5 separate regions of the Homo sapiens genome follow, and regions 1, 2, 3 and 4 are each linked to region 5. The links are contacts of gene promoters, found by promoter capture Hi-C in blood cells and fetal thymus (Javierre and others, 2016). All regions are on one chromosome and are shown on one strand. Each heading gives the region's core, a stretch centred on a gene start or on the middle of the fragment in contact. The rest is flanking DNA. Distances are from core to core; before and after follow the strand shown. Region 1 has its middle 110 kb from the start of CD8B2. Region 2 has its middle 44 kb from the start of CD8B2. Region 3 has its middle 67 kb from the start of CD8B2. Region 4 has its middle 93 kb from the start of CD8B2. Region 5 holds the start of TGFBRAP1 (transforming growth factor beta receptor associated protein 1).

Region 1 (2,895 bases), core at 116-2,615, 1.3 Mb after region 5:
CAGGGTTTCACTGTGTTAGCCAGGGTGGTCTTGATCTCCTGACCTCGTGATCTGCCTGCCTTGGCCTCCCAAAGTGCTGGGATTACAGGTGTGAGCCACCGCACCTGGCCAGTTTGTTTAAAAGATACGTAAGTGTTCAAGTTATTTCTGAGCTAGATTTGATAGTTTTTATCTTTCAAGGAATTTGTCAAATTTATTGACATAGGATTTCGTAATATTCTTTTTATTCTTTTCTAACAGCTTGAGATAGAATTTGTATACCATACAATTCAAGTAAAGCATACAATTTAATGGTTTTTAGTATATTCGCGGACATATACAACCATCACCTCAGTCAATTTTAAAACATTTTCATCACCTCAAAGGGAAACCCCATGACCTTTAGTTATCACCACCCTATACTCCCCATCTTAGCCCTGAGCAACACCAACTCCTTTTTGTCTCCTTACTTGGGACTTCTACATGAATGGAATCATATAGTATGTCATCTTTTACAACCAACTTCTCTCACTTAGCATATCATTTTCAAGATTCATAAGTATTGTAGCCTACATCAGTAGTTTACTTATTTTTTTTGACCAAATCATATTTCATTGTATGGATATACCACATTTTGTTTATCTGTTCGCCTGTTGATGGGCACAGCTTGTTTTCACCTTTTGTCTATTTCAGTAGTATTGTTACAAATATTCATGTACAAGCTTTTGTGTGGACATATGCTATTAATTCTTTCTTTGGATATATGACTGGGAGTGAAATTGCTGAGTCATATGGTGACTTTTTACTTAATCTTTTGATAAACTGCTAGATTGTTTTCCAAAGCAACTTTGCGATTTTACGTTCTCACTAGCAGTGCTGAGGGCTCCAATTTTCCCATAATCTCACTAACATTTGTAATTATCTGACTTCTTTATTGTAGCCATCCTAGTGCTAGTTGAAGTGATACCTTACTGTGGTTTTGACTTGCGTTTCCATGATGACTAATGATGTTGAACATCTTTTTATATGCTTATTGGCTATTTGTGCATCTTCCTTGAAGAAATGTATATCCAGGTCCTTTGCCCATTTTAAATCTGTTTTTTTCTTTTTATTATAGATTTTTAAAAGTATTTATATGAGTATATCTTAGATTATTTAATAATATTTTTATTGTTGAGTTGTTCTTTTGAATCCTGTATATACTCCAGATACAATTCCCTGATCAGATATATGGTTTGGAAATATTTTCTCTCATTTTGTGAATTGTCTTTTTATTTTTTTGATGGTATCCTTTCAGGTAATAAGTTTTCCATTTTGATGAAGTCCAATTTATCTATTTTATATTTTGTTGCCTGTGCTTGTAGAGTCATATCCAAAAAATTATTGCCAAATTCAATGTCATGAAGATTTTTCCCTATTTTCTTTTAAGAGTTTTATAGGTTTGGCTCTTACATTTAGGTCTTTGAGCCATTTTAAGTTACGTTTTGCATATTATATAAAGTAAATCTCCAAGTTTGTTCTGCAGGTGGCTATACAAATGACTCAGTGCATTTGTTGAAAAGACTATTGCTTCCCAATTGAATGGCCTTGGCACCCTCATCAAAAATCGGTTAACCATAGGTGTATGGGTTTATTCTAGACTCTGAATTCTATTTCACTGATCTACATGTCTATTATCATGCTAATACTACACTGTCTTGATTACTGTTGCTTTATTCTAAGTTTTGGAATTGAGAAGTATACATTGTTCTATTTTGTTCTTCTTTTGCAAGAGTGTTTTTGCCATTCTGGGACCCACCCATGAAATTCCACATGAATTTTAACACTGGCTTGTTAATTTCTATAAAGAAGCTCCCTAGGACTCTAATAGTTATTGCCTTGAGTCTGTAGATCAATTTGGGAAGTACTGGCATCAGTGTTAGTCCATTTTTATGTCACTATAAAGCTATATCTGAGACTAGGTAATTTATAAAGATAAAAGTTTTAATTTGCTAATGGTTCTGCAGGATGTACAAGCATGACAACATCTTGGCTTCTGGTGAGGACCTAAGGAAGCTTACCATCATGGTGAAAGGTGAAGCAGGGGCAGGTAGGTCACATAATGAGAGTAGGAATGAGAGAGAGAGAGAGGAGAGAGAGAGGTGAGGTGCCACACTGTTTTAAATAACCAGTGCTCCCATGAACTCAGAGTGATAATTCCTTGTGATCACAAGGACCACACCAAATATTCATGAGGGATCCACTCCTGTGACCCAAGCACCTCCCACCAGGCCCCACCTCCAACACTGGAGATTACGTTTAAATATGAGATTTGGAGGGGACAAACATCCAAAGTATATCATTCCACCCTGCTCCTGCCAAATCTCGTGTTCTTCTCACAATGCAAAATATAATCATCCATTCTCAATAGTTCCCCAAAGTCTTAATTCGTTTCAGTTTTAATTTGAAAGTCCTAATTCCCAAGTCTCATCTGGAGATTTTTTTTTTTTTCCCCCACTAAGAGCCTATAAAACTGAAACAAGTTATGTTCTTCCAAGAGACAGTGCAGGTACCAGCATTGGGTAAACATTCCTGTTCCAAAAGGGAGAAATTCACCTAAAGAAAGGGGCTATAAGTCCCATGCAAGTTGGAAACCCAGCAGGGCATTTATTAAATCTTAAAGCTACAAAATAATCTCCTTTGACTTCACATCCCACATCCAGAGCACAGTAGTGTCAGAAGTGGGCTCCCAAGGCCTTGGGCAGCCCTGCCCCTGAGGCTTTGCAGGGTCAGCCCCTGTGGTTGTTCTCACCGGCTGGTGTTGAGTGCCTTGGCTTTTCCAGGTGCAAGCTGTTGGTGGATCTCTATTCTGGGGTTTGGAAGATAGTGGCCCTCTTCTCACAGCTACACTAGGCAGTGCCCCAGTGGGGACTCTGT
Region 2 (2,907 bases), core at 19-2,518, 1.2 Mb after region 5:
TGAGGGAGCTCTGTCTTTGCCATCACACAGGGCAAGCAGCGATGAGGTTTCCTGGAACTCAAGGATCCTCAGTGTGCTTTCCAGTACTGCAGGTGTAGCAGTCAAAGTTAGTGAAAAACCATAGCAAAACCACATAAGTGGGACTACGAAGTACTCATACCCTTGAGAATGAAGGATCAGGTCATCCCACCTGATGGAGAAGTTTCACCCGCTGAGAAAGTGAACACAACTGGAATGGGTTGTAGGAACAGAAGGTAGTGGATGCCAGCATGGCTCTGCTGCCGGTATGAGGACTGCAGCAGTTACCTGAAGTTCAGTCCCTTCCTATTGTATAAAGTGCACATTTCAGTATTGTAACTAAGTGGCACTCCTGTGAAGGACGGATCCCAGAACTAGAGGAGATCTTGAGGGCGCAAACCTTGAACAGTCCCAGAAATCGAAGGAGGGCTTTGAAATTCCATAGGCCTTGACAATGAGCTACTTTAGCCAATTTAACTTAAATTTTGAGGAACAGGGAGGGAGGTTTTGCCTAACATTGTGAGAAGCGTGTGAACCAGGAGCAACTCCAGCTTTTTTGTTTTGGAGATGGAGTCTCGCTGTCGCCCAGGCTGGACTGCAGTGGCGCGATCTCGGCTCACTGCAAGCTCCGCCTCCCGGGTTCACGCCATTCTCCCGCCTCAGCCTCCTGAGTAGCTGGGACTACAGGCGCCCGCTACCACGCCAGGCTAATTTTTTTGTATTTTTAGTAGAGATGGGGTTTCACCCTGTTAGCCAGGATGGTCTTGATCTCCTGACCTCGTGATCCACCCAGCTCGGCCTCCCAAAGTGCTTGAATAGGGGCTAGGTAAGATGGGGCTGAGACCTGCTAGGCTGCATTCCCAGATGGTTAAGGCATCTAAGTCACAGGATGAGATGGGAGGTTGGCACAAGACACAGGTCATAAAGACCTTGCTGATAAAACAGGTTGCAGTGAAGAAACAGCTAAATCTCACGAAACCCAAGAAGGCGGTGAGAGTGACCTCTGGTCATCCTCATTGCCACACTCCCACCAGCTCCTTGACAGTTTACAAATGCCATGGCAATGTCAGGAAGGTACCCTAGATGGGCTAAAAAGGGGAGGCATGAATAATCTACCCCTTGTTTAGCATATAATCAAGAAATAACTATAAAAATAGGAAACCAGTAGCCCTCGGGGCTGCACTGTCTATGGAGTAACCATTGTTTATTCCTTTACTTCCTTAATAAACTTGCTTTCACTTTACCCTACTGACTCACCCTAAATTATTTCTTTCGTGAAATCCAAAAACCCTCTCTTGAGGTCTGAATCAGGACCCCTTTCCTGTAACAACATCTAAAGGATCAAGTAGCAGAATTTGCTCTGCTCTTCAGACTAGGTTTTGGGAGTCATCCAGAAAGTGATTTAGCTCATGACACTCAGACATAGTAGATACCGTCCCCCAAATCTGAAGAGATACTCTCAGTGTTGGGTCCCCTTTTTAGTGGTAGTGGGAACTAGGTACACCACTTGCTTTTCCTTTTCCTTTGGGCAATAATCCAATTGCCCCAAATTCTGAAACATCAGACGCTGAAACGGGCAGGTGCCTCTATTTTTGTTGCACTTATTTTCTGTCCTCTATCACACGAGTTCTCGAGTTCTATCCAAGATGTCCTGGAACCTACTATTTCTTGCTCTAAGGGTCCTAGCCAGGATGCTGCCCCTGCAGGGGGCCAGGATGATGTCCTGCAGGCTGAGTCCCTAGGGCCATGTGAGCCTCTCAAGCCTGGTTAGGTCATGGGGTGGGAAATGTATGGGATTCACTATTAGATTGCCCCAGCTACTTTCCCTCTGATGGTCACTGCTGCACCCTGGCTCTTCTCTTCAGTGCGATCCTGAAGCCTCTCCCATGGGCATTCCAGTCCAGTGAGAACAGCCAGCACAGATTCTTTAAAGTGTCCTGCACTTTCTTCCCCAACCTTTTCCTCAAGGTCTACATGAAGGGAACCTCTCTGGGGAGCAGAGTGTGTGTGTGGGTAGAACAAACAAGCTACATCCAGCCCAGCATTCCAGTCTCCCCAGGCCTTTGATTTCCCTCATTTTCGTTATAGCAAGGAATGCATGGCCTTTTGAAGTCATTTGCCGCAGGCCAGCTTTCAGCCTAGGTCTGCATCCGCCATCCCAGCAAAGTAACAGATCTCCAGCCAGCTGTGCATATTGCACACCCAACCGCCCTCTTGATAAATGCAACCATAGCACAGATTCAGCTCAGTCTAACATTTTGTTCCAGCACAGTTAGCTGAGCCCTGTCAAAATCCACTTCCACAAATATTTCCCGGAGTTTGTATGTGTAAAAAGCACATTTCTGTATCTCCTTTGAATCTTTAGTAGAATCCCATTACGACTGGTTGTTGGAGGGGAGGATTCAATGGCCATGACCTTGATAGGCTTTGGAGCTCTGGTTCCTGATTTTTTGGAAGCCAATTGTCCAGTTCTGTAAACTTCAAGGTATTCTCTTTACACATTTTTTTTTCTATTAAAGCGAGCTAGAATCCTAGCAAATACAGATATTGGTGTTACTGGAAAGGAGTCCGGATCCAGACCCCAAGAGAGGACTTTTGGATCTTGCTCAAGAAAGAATTTGGGGCGAGTCCATATAGTAAAGTGAAAGCAAGCTTATTAAGAAAGTAATGGAATAAAAGAATGGCTGCTCCATAGGCAGAGTAGCCCCAAGGGCTGCCAGTTGCCCATTTTTATGGTTATTTCTTGATTATATGCTAAACAAGGGGTGGATTATTCATGAGTTTTCTGCAAAAGGGGTGGGCAATTCCTGGAACTGAGAATTCCTTCCATTTTTAGACCATATAGGGTAACTTCCTGGCATTGCCATGGCATCTGTAAACTATCATGGC
Region 3 (3,320 bases), core at 768-3,267, 1.2 Mb after region 5:
TTTGTGAATCTTGCTTTTCTGCACTTTTCCCTCTCTTCTCCAGAAACTTCTCCTGGAAAGGCCCTTTCTGAGCACTCACCCCGTCATTCTTGATGGGCCTGTTTCACATCCTCTTCCCAGCTGTTGTCATGTCTTTTCCTCCTCCCGTTTCATGCTCACATTGCTCCTGTGACCTGGTGACTCCCTTTAACACCAGGGGTGACAAAGAGCATCCTAAATTCATGGAATGTCTTTTATCTACGACTTGGGAAGCTGAACTGTCTTGATGAAGCATGACATCCTAGGCAGAATCTCAGGGTAGCATGAACGGCTGTGCTTCTTTATTTTTTCTTCTAAAGGGTTAAACATTTTCCAAGTTGGCTGCCATCAGCATGGGCTGGTTTATGCTGTGACTTTCTTTTTCTAGGAAGATTAATGCCAGAGCCATTTATCTGTGACGATACCTTTGAAGAGAAACAAATGAAAAAGTGGAATTTCAGTCCAATCTAGTCTAACGAATTCAATCTGTTGCAGAAATAACATGGGGAAGCAAGGGAATGAACACTTGCTGGGCAGACGCATCAATCATCTGAATCGTGCCACTGAGCCGGACTATAACTATAGCAAGAACGAATCTAACTATAGTCTTATTAGGTGAAAGACTGGATTCTATTTATCTTTTTATGTAGAGCCAACTCAAAAGCTTGCAAGACTCAAGCACCTTTTCTGTTCTCTCTCGGGCTTTGAAAAACTGTTCCCATTATCAATTCAGTATACCCTTAAGGCAAATTTGTCCAACCCGTGACCGTTTGGCCCAGGATGGCTTTGAATGCAGCCCAACACAAACTCGTAATTTTTCTTAAAGCATTACGAGAGTTTTTTGCGACATTTTTAAGCTCATCAGCTATCATTAGTGTTAGTGTATTTTACGTGCGGCCCAAGACAATTCTTCTTCTTCCAGTGTGGCCAAAGGAAGCCAAAAGATTGGATACCCCTGCTTTAAGGTAAGAATTTGGGTTGCCAGTTGGTTGGTACGATTATTCAACTGGCATCCATAATGGTTTCTGGAACACAGAAGATGCACAATGTATTAGCTCCATTCTTCCTTCCCTTGCTTTCTTGCCCTCTGAGGCCAGAAATCCCAAGAGGTAGTGGCAGTCACACCTGGACCAGAGCTCTGAAGAGATGGGTTCTCACCTGAGCTCTGGCTCTCACTGCAGGAATGATCTTATGCAAGGTGTCTTTCCCCCATTCTTTTGTGCAATTGGGATCTGCATAAGTCAGTGGTTCTCAAAGGGGGCAATTTTGTCCTTCTGGGGAAAATGGCTGGAGATATTTTCAGTGTTCACAACTGTATGCGGGGAGAGTGTCCTACTGACATTTAATGAGCAGAGACCAGGGAAATTGCTGAACATCCTACAGGGCACAAGACAGCCCTACAACGGAGGGCTCTCCAGCCCCCAGTGTCAATAGTGCTGAGGAACCCTGGTGTGACAGTAAACGATCACCACTGGAATCATTTACAGTCATGCACTGACTAATGACGTGGATACATTCTCAGAAATGCAATTTTGTCATTCTGTGGACATCACAGAGTGAACTTACAAAGACCTAGATGGTATTGTCTACTACACACCTCAGCTGTACAGGCTGTACTCTGTCCTATTGCTCCGAGGCACAAACGTTTACAGCATGTGACCGTACTGAGTACTATAGGCAATTATAACACAATGGTAAGAATTTGTGTATTTAAACCTAACTAAGCCTAGAAAAGGTACAGTAAAAATATGACATTATAATCTTATTTGACCATGGTCCTATATGCAGTTCATTGTTACGTGGCACATTACTATACTACAAAGGGAAGGTGTGGATTCCTACTATGTAGCAGGTGCTGTACTAGATATTTAAATCTTACTTGATTTGATTTTCACAAAACTCTGCAAGTGTGGATATTAGTGTTCCCATTTTATAGATGAGGCACCTGAAGCTCAGAGAGACTAAGCAGTAGTCATATCACTAGCATGAGTTGCAGTCGAACTTGGAGCTGTTTTCATTAATTTGATGATAAAGACTTTGAAGCATGCATGTGTTTGGTGGTGCTTATAGAATCATAGACCTCCAGAACCAGAAGGTATCTTGAAAGTAGTTGGTTAGTCAGATGTCCTCGTTTTACAGATGGAGAAACTGAAGCAAAGAGGTTTACTCTATAACAGAGCAAGAGCCAGAGTCTGGCCTGGAGCCCATGGCTCAGCTAGGAGAGGGACCAAGCCTTCTAACCAGTGCTCTCTGGGGTGTGTCTGCCTGTAAGAAGACATGGAGTGGGAACACTTGTTTCTCCTAGCAGGCCTGAATTGCCTCTTTATTGCTAGCCAGGCAAATTCCCACTGTAACAGGCCATGGCTGGGTTTCTGGAGGTGGTGGACAGGTTTTCACTTTGGAGCCCTCTAAACAGGTAGTCTTGGCTTTGCAGGTGTTCTTGGACAAGGCTCACACATGCTGCAGGAGAGTGCCTCTGCTGGTTCAGATGCTGTCCCTTAGGACACATCCTTGGCTCTTCCCTACCTCTATCCTTTCGCCTGCTTTCTCACTCCCCACCTTGCATCCCTCTCTATGCCCTCCAACTCTGACTTGCAAAATAGACCAAGGAGACAGGTTAGGAAGAACTTCTGGGAGCAACACGGAAAAAAGTACGTTTTTGGAATCTGGGTCACTATCGTAATCTGCTGCAGATAATGAGCAGTGAATGTGTGTTTGATGAGATGGGACTTCTTCCCCTTAGGTCTGAAGGAACTCATTTGGAGAACAGGCATGCAGATGCCCTGAGAGCTCGGTGCCACACGATGGACACACAAATGGAGATATGGCTTCCACATGCTGTGTTCCCACACCTCTCATATTTCAGACGCAGTGCTTTGCCCTTCATCCATTAACTCGCATTCTTTTTCTCTTCTGTCTCCCTCCATTTGGGATGATCAAAATTTTATTTCTGGATGAGCTCCTTTTTGCCCACTCTAAGAGTTAAATACCTTTGCTGACACTGAATTTGGAAACACAGACTTAGGGAAATTTTTCAGAAAGACTGCTTTAAGAGTAATTTTTTTTCCCAACAGACAACACAGAAGTAGAATTTTATTTACTTGCTTTTGCTATTATTAGCCATTTATATCATATCATAACTTATGAATAAGACATTAAGATGAGCATTGTAAACGAATGCTACCAATTGCATAAGAGAGAATCCATTCATTTTTGCTAGCTTGTATTGTTTTCTGTGTTTCCACCATACAATTAGATGTAAAATAGAAATACAATTCTATTGCATTAAAGAGTAATACTTG
Region 4 (3,287 bases), core at 3-2,502, 1.3 Mb after region 5:
ACTTTATGATGGTGCAAAAGCAATATGCATTTAGTAAAAATAGTACTTCAAATTTGTAATTTCCATCTTTTCTGGGGCTAGGGATATGTGGAACAATACTCAGAATGGTGGGCAGGGCAATGAGCCAGATGTCCCAGTCAGCTATATGATCATGAGGGCAAATAGCTGATAATGTACAGGGTGCTATGATTTCAGATGATGTTACCTCACTGTAGGCTAATGTACGTGTTCTGAGCATGTTTAAGGTGGGCTAGGCTAAGCTATGATATTCTATAGGTTAGGTGTGTTAAATGCATTTTTGACTTGGATAGTTTCAACTTAACCATGGGTTTATCGGGATGTAACCCCATTGTGTAAGTTGGGTTGCATCTGTACTTTGAAAGTAACATTCTTCATCATGCACATAAAAACTCACTCCACTTCCAGTTCCTTTAATTCCTTAGATGACTGTGTCATTTGGAAATGAGGACAAAGTAGTAGTCATCTATGAGACCCATTGTTGGAAGCTTTCTAATTTTCTTATGAGAGTATCCATCACTTGAAAAGCTGAAATAGTATAGCATTTTTTATGGGCAATGTATGAGAAACTGCTATAATTGGCTCTAGATTTATAGCAAATAAGACAATAAATACAGCAAACTGGATTGGTTTTTAAGGCAGCAGCCATTGTGAAACAAAAAAATGAGATTGATATTTTCAATCTCAAAATGACTATGTTGTAAACTGTTTAGAGATCATCTATTATCAGACTAAAAGTCAAACAATCTGGAATTTCTCTTAGATTTTCAAAGATGATTGGGAGATGGACTCAGATGGCACCATGTGGCAAGAATTCATAAGATTACACACGCTGTTTGTAAATTGACCTTTAAATATTAGGCTTGACGGAGAGACAAGTGTATGGGCAGATTTGAATTCAGATAAAGAAAGAATGTGAAAGTATCTGTGTAAACTGTAAACTAAGTTATCGATACAGTGTAGGTTTTTTTCTGCACATAAACACGATGTACATGATTTCAAGCTAGCTCAAATTTATGAAAACTCCCAGACAGCATGAGAAATAAGAAGGAAGCAAGAGAGCAACACTTCCCCTTGCTTGCTGCCCTGTGGGTCATTGCTCGCTAACGTCCAAGGTCAAAGCCCTTGGCCGAGGGGCACTGCTGGCAGCCTCTGGGCTGGCTGACAGAAAAATACACTACCACTTTTCATCTTGGTGAGTGGTCTGGCGACCTAGGGTCAAAACCGCAGCTAAAGAGATCTGCTGACAAAAAGGCAGAGTGGAAATTATCTAGATGAATCCAACCAGCTGTTAGAAAAACAGAACAACCCTGCTCTGAAGGTGACAGCAGAGGCCAGCCAGGCGTCTGTCTTTTTCCTCGGACTGGGGCCAGCTTTAAATGCAGCCAAATCAATCCATTGTACAACGGTGAACCAGCCAGTCCATGGTGCCTCTGGTTATCTCTAGGATCATCTCGTATGTTGGTAGCTGGGGAGATTGTGGCACCCCATAATAACCAGGCAGCCTGCTCTCTTACACAGGTGCATAGTGGATGCTGCTGCTCAGAGGCTTTCGGGAGTGGCCCTTCCAGAACCCTCTGAAGGTCTATACTCCAGGCATCTGAGGTTCCCCACCAAGGGTTTTGTTTGCTCTGTTTCATGCTTGTAACATGCCAGAAGTGCAGGGCAGTTGACACCACCAGGAGCAGCCACTAAAGCAGGTAACAAGAGCCGGTGTGCCCAGCATCCTTGCCTTCAGGAGAGGCAGCCCTGGGGTGTGTCCACACTGTCCAGGAGACCCAGCCGGTTGGGGCCCCAGCTGCCTACAGAGGAAACCACTCATGAGCATGCCTTATATCCCTCTCCTCCCCTCCCCTCCCCTCCCGTCCCCTTCTTTTCCCCTTGTTGAAAGACTTTCACTCATAAATCCACAAATCAGAAAAAATTCTTCGTTGGGCCATACGTCCATCTTTTTTCTTTAAAATACTGTTTCTGCAATATTAAGCTTAATTACTCCTATCCGGGTTATACTTAATGCTAAATTGTCGTAATCTTAGTGCCGAGTCCCCCCAAGCAACTGCAGTTTTGCTAGAAGCTCTTTAGCTCAGCTCCTCTGAGGGCTCTGCCGTCTGTCCCTCAGCTTCCATGTCCTGTGGCTCCCCGGATGGCAGTGGCTTCCTCAGCCCCTGCAACGTTACCTTTTATGCTTGTGGATTCTAATGTCTACCAAGCAATCCTCACTTAGACTCAAGGAAGAAAACTGGGTGAATACCCCAATCTCGCTGCAAGGCCCACACCTCACAGGTGATGACAGGGGCAGGAAGGAAGCCACACTGAGTGGAGGGTGCTGCCGTGAGCCTGCCCACCGCGTCCTGGTTTAGTCGCTAAACTTACATTTCCCTGATCTTGTCAGAAGTTCTCTCTAGGGAGGAAATGTTTTGGATATTCACCTCATTTTGATGGTGAGCGGCTTGAAGCAGTTTGGAAGTTGCTGTCAGTACCGAAGCCCTTCAGATCTTCACGCTAATTTCCGTACAAAGAACTGCTAGGGAAATTCCTACTCTGTTTCTCATCTTTATTGAAGCTTAAACTCAAATCCTTGAGCCTGTGAAACATGTCCTTTTCCTCTATAGACGCTTCATTTTCACAACCCTGCACGAAAACTGCTTAGAAGCATTCCTTTCCATCTGTCACCCTCCTTCACTTGGGTTTCTTCATTCCTAGTAGGGTTTCTTCAATTACCTTCTGCAGAATAGCACTAGGTCCAGTCCCCAGGGATCGGCAACGTATAAGCCCACAGCCAGCACCGCAGTGGAGCCTTCTGTTCCTTCCCATCCCTGATGAGATGAGAAACTTGAGTGGCAGATTTGCTGGGAACCGGATCGCAGGGTTGCTTTTTAGCCACCCCTGTCTATCAATCTGCCTTTTCCCTCAGCATGTGCGCAGTAATTTATCCAGCTCTCCTTCACTACACTTTGTTTGGAGTGTGTGTGTGTGTGTGTGTGGGAGAGAGACAGAAAGACAGGGACAGAGAGAGAGACAGAAAGATAGAGACAGAGAGAGCTACAGAGAGTTAACTGAGATACAGAGACAGAGGTCAGAGACAGAGAGATAGGGAGATACAGAGACATAGAGACAGACAGAGATAGAGACAGAGATCAGAGACAGAGAGAGGCAGATAGACAGACAGAGATACAGAGACAGAGACAGAGAGAGACTGAAAGATAGACACCCGCCCCCCCACACACACAACGTATTTCTTCAATCAGTTTCATTTCCATACCATAGGT
Region 5 (3,234 bases), core at 52-2,551:
AGCTGACCAAATGTTCCTTCTGACTGACCATGGAACTGCGAGCTCTCAGTTGTCTGCCAGCTTCCGGCTGACCAACAGAGAGAAGCATGTCCACCATGAGAGAGTAGCAGCCACCACACAGTCCCTCTACATTCGTTCATCCTGACTCCAACCAAGCCAACACACACAACGCAGTAGGATCTTCCCTGCACACCTTCTCAGTGCCTTAACTTGCCACCACAATCACACCCGCAGCTGCCTTCCTTCCTGATAGACAAGGTGCTTGCCCATGAGCACTTCATCAGTGATTAAACTCTGCTCAGACATGTTTTGACCACAGCTGCGCGTGCAGTCCACGTGCAGTAAGGCCTGCTGTGTGATCTGTGAGCCCCCATTTTTAGCAGCCAGGTAGGAGGCTTCCTGAGGGTCACTCAACAGTCCTTGGGTAGAAGCCACGGCAGGTGCAGACAACCGGACAGCTTCCGTGTTTAAGGATATCAACACTTAACACAGGGAGGCAGGCGGACTAACTTGCACCTGCACCTCCAGAAGGCAATGGAAAGAAAACAATTCCACAGGGATGACAGCTTCCAGCCCTTGACCTGGTGCTAAAAACAGGGGCCAGGAAGCCCAGCACAGCACTTTTCCCTACTCCCCAACACACCCCTGCCTACTCTCCAGATCAGGACAATTCAGGCCTGAGTGTGACCCGAATTTGAGCTCTCAAATCCAAAGAGCTCCCAGAAACCTCAATCACAGCGCCAAAACCATTCCATACCAGGGATGGAGGTGCAAGTCCTTCCTGGCCCTTCTCCCCGGAAAACCCAAATCAAGGACGAGGTCTCTCAGGTCTTCCCTTGCCCTAAACACACACGCACTCCTCACACACAACATACACACTTGACCCCACACCCGTGCACACTTCATCCCACACACACGTGAACACTTATTTGCTCACCCCAGCAGGCTAGCCGGCCCCCACAAGGGACAGCTACCAAGTCGCACACCCGCACACCTGCCCCCAAGTGTATAGCCACTTGCTCCCCCCACCCCGCGTTCCAGCCCCCACTACACCTGCCCCAGCGCACACGCACGGGCTCGCCCTCCACCCCGCCCCGCCGCCTACCCCCCACTCCTGCTCCCCGCCCTCCTGCCCCACGCGCCCCGCGCCCTGAGCCCCGCACCCCGCGCCCCGCCGCCCTCCTCACTCACCGGCGCCGGCGCCCGCCGTCCCGCGCCGCCCCGCGGCCTGGGGCCCCGCCGCCCCGCTCCGGCCCGCGGCTCCTGGGCTGGCCCGACCCCGCAGCCGCCGCTTCCCGTCACGTGGGGCGGCCGCCAGGCGCTGGCGGAGGGCGGGAGCGCAGCCGTCTCCGCGCCGCCCGCCGGCCCGCGGGCCCTGCCGCCTGGCTCCGAGCACAGGCCGAGACGGGCCCTGCTCCGGGCCTCGGCGTCCCCCTCCGTGCACCGGGGCCACGACACGGCCCGCCTCGCGGGGCGGCCAGCGGGCGGAAGGTGTTCATTCGGGGGGCGCTGAGGCCGCCGGCCCCGGGCGAGAGCGTGGTCCGCGCCAGCTGTGCGAGCCCGCGGGGCTGAGGTCTCTTCTCCGCCCCCGCCGCTGCGGGGAGCTTCAGGGAAGCCGGGCTTTGCCTGGCTCGCTCGCCACCCAGTTTCTGTCACCTACACAGGAGGAGGGCGCCCGGGAAATACCTGCTGCGTGAATGAATAAATGAATGAAATGCTTGGGCCCTGGGAAATGCTTGGGCCCGCGGCCGCCTGACCACGCGGGCTGGAGGATCGGACGTACCGCCGGTGCCCCACCAGGAGACGAAGGCATGGTTGGGATGCGCAGCCCTCCCACGAGGCCCATGGCGCCCCAGGGCCCTAGGGATTGACCGGGACCCCCGACTGGCAGAGTCCACCTGCTTGATACACTTATTTGAGAAGGGAGGCCTGGGACTATCTTACTCCTTTTAGGAAAACCCAACTGTAGCTGCTATTCCTTTGGTTCAGGCCGCAAGGAAGAATTGTAGGTTACCATGAATCCATGAACCCCTCTTTAGTATACAAAGTCCACTTTCATGACGGAAGAATTGGAAAGCTCCCTCCAGAGTTGTCAGTACTCAATTATTAGCATATAAAAAGTCAAATTTTCCCAGGGATTTTCAGACTTTAGAACCTGCTAGTGACCTGTGGCCTCAGCTTTCTTCCAGCCACTCTGAGTATTGTAAAACAAAGATATTATCCCAACCCTGAAGGCAGATACCAGATTGTACGCCATGGTCTTCTGTTTCAAAGGGATAAAAAAAGAAAGAAAAGAAACTGGCCAAAAAAAAAAAAAAAAAAAAAAAACCCAACAATCTTCCTGTGACTTGCCCTCTACCCCTACCCTAGTGTGACTCATGGCCACATAAATGCCCCATCCCCAGTGGTGCTTCAGCTGTGACCCAGTGGAACCAGTGTCACCGGCTCAGCCTCCAGGTAGGGGACTGGCTTCCCAGGAGTGTAAAGCTCTGACCAGCAATTGAGCTTCAAGGGCAAGCAGCAGTGAATGGACCTTCAAGTCTAAGGTGGCCAACAGCTAGTGGAGCCAGGGATTGGGAAGGTACAAGAGCAAATCCAGTCTCTTCATTTTACCCAGGCTCACAGAGACTATGTGACTTGTCATCAACTAATCACTGGCTCAGGTGGTCCTAGAATTCACCCTTGTGCTTTTGTATCTTAGTCCTCTACCAGATCACATCACAGAGAGCTGCACAAGACTAGTTACAGAGGTGATATCTACTGACTGCCAGACAGTGACTTCAGAAACTGCTAGTGACTGAGCAATGAAGTAGACGCTATTAATTTACTTAATAGCGTCAAAGAATAAATTTAATTCTTTGAGGCAAAGAAAGGTGAATGACTTCCTGTGTTAATTCACTTAGGAAAATATAAATAAAAAAATTTAAAAAGGTGACTTGTCCCAAACCCCATGCTAGTAAGAAAGAGCAACAATAAGAATCCAGAATTCAGCAACAGTAATTCTTTTTATATAAAGTTGTTTTGAATGAATAGTTTATGAACAATCTTTGTGTTCTACTTTAGATGATCCAGGAGTGAAAATGTATAACAAGAGATAATTCAGATATATTTATTTTATGAAAGGATTTATTACAGGATTCTTACAATGGCAAGCTCCATATTATTCCATCTAGAAACATCTGTTCCTTCTGAAACTTGATGAGAAGTCTGTGTCACAAATGACAGGCACCTCCA

Evidence for each region. The method cuts DNA at HindIII sites, captures the fragments that hold promoters and counts their contacts. A CHiCAGO score of 5 or more calls a contact.
Region 1: a contact is called between a fragment that was not itself captured here and the fragment with the promoter of TGFBRAP1 in region 5, in 2 of 17 cell types (naive CD8 T cells and total CD4 T cells). The highest score is 6.8, in naive CD8 T cells.
Region 2: a fragment that was not itself captured here is called in contact with the fragment with the promoter of TGFBRAP1 in region 5 in 4 of 17 cell types (total CD4 T cells, non-activated CD4 T cells, naive B cells and 1 more); the score reaches 7.3 in total CD4 T cells.
Region 3: a contact is called between a fragment that was not itself captured here and the fragment with the promoter of TGFBRAP1 in region 5, in 5 of 17 cell types (total CD4 T cells, naive CD8 T cells, non-activated CD4 T cells and 2 more). The highest score is 9.1, in total CD4 T cells.
Region 4: a fragment that was not itself captured here is called in contact with the fragment with the promoter of TGFBRAP1 in region 5 in 8 of 17 cell types (activated CD4 T cells, naive CD8 T cells, naive CD4 T cells and 5 more); the score reaches 14.2 in activated CD4 T cells.

The regions. Positions count from the first base shown.
Region 1 is chr2:106,598,974-106,601,868 of GRCh38, forward strand. No RefSeq gene overlaps it. Among named protein-coding and RNA genes, the nearest start is that of CD8B2, 110 kb to the left of the region's middle. The HindIII fragment of the contact is 1,333 bases long and covers 700-2,032 here.
Region 2 is chr2:106,529,817-106,532,723 of GRCh38, forward strand. It overlaps a transcript of CD8B2 not described here. Among named protein-coding and RNA genes, the nearest start is that of CD8B2, 44 kb to the left of the region's middle. The HindIII fragment of the contact is 2,800 bases long and covers 1-2,668 here.
Region 3 is chr2:106,553,010-106,556,329 of GRCh38, forward strand. No RefSeq gene overlaps it. Among named protein-coding and RNA genes, the nearest start is that of CD8B2, 67 kb to the left of the region's middle. The HindIII fragment of the contact is 2,674 bases long and covers 681-3,320 here.
Region 4 is chr2:106,578,689-106,581,975 of GRCh38, forward strand. No RefSeq gene overlaps it. Among named protein-coding and RNA genes, the nearest start is that of CD8B2, 93 kb to the left of the region's middle. The HindIII fragment of the contact is 1,496 bases long and covers 505-2,000 here.
Region 5 is chr2:105,328,434-105,331,667 of GRCh38, forward strand. TGFBRAP1 (transforming growth factor beta receptor associated protein 1) reads right to left here and starts at 1,302. Exons shown (of 12, transcript NM_004257.6): 1 at 1,192-1,302. It overlaps C2orf49-DT (C2orf49 divergent transcript), which reads right to left. Exons shown (of 2, transcript NR_187479.1): 2 at 3,096-3,234. RefSeq lists a silencer at 1,187-1,616. The HindIII fragment of the contact is 18,854 bases long and covers 1-3,234 here.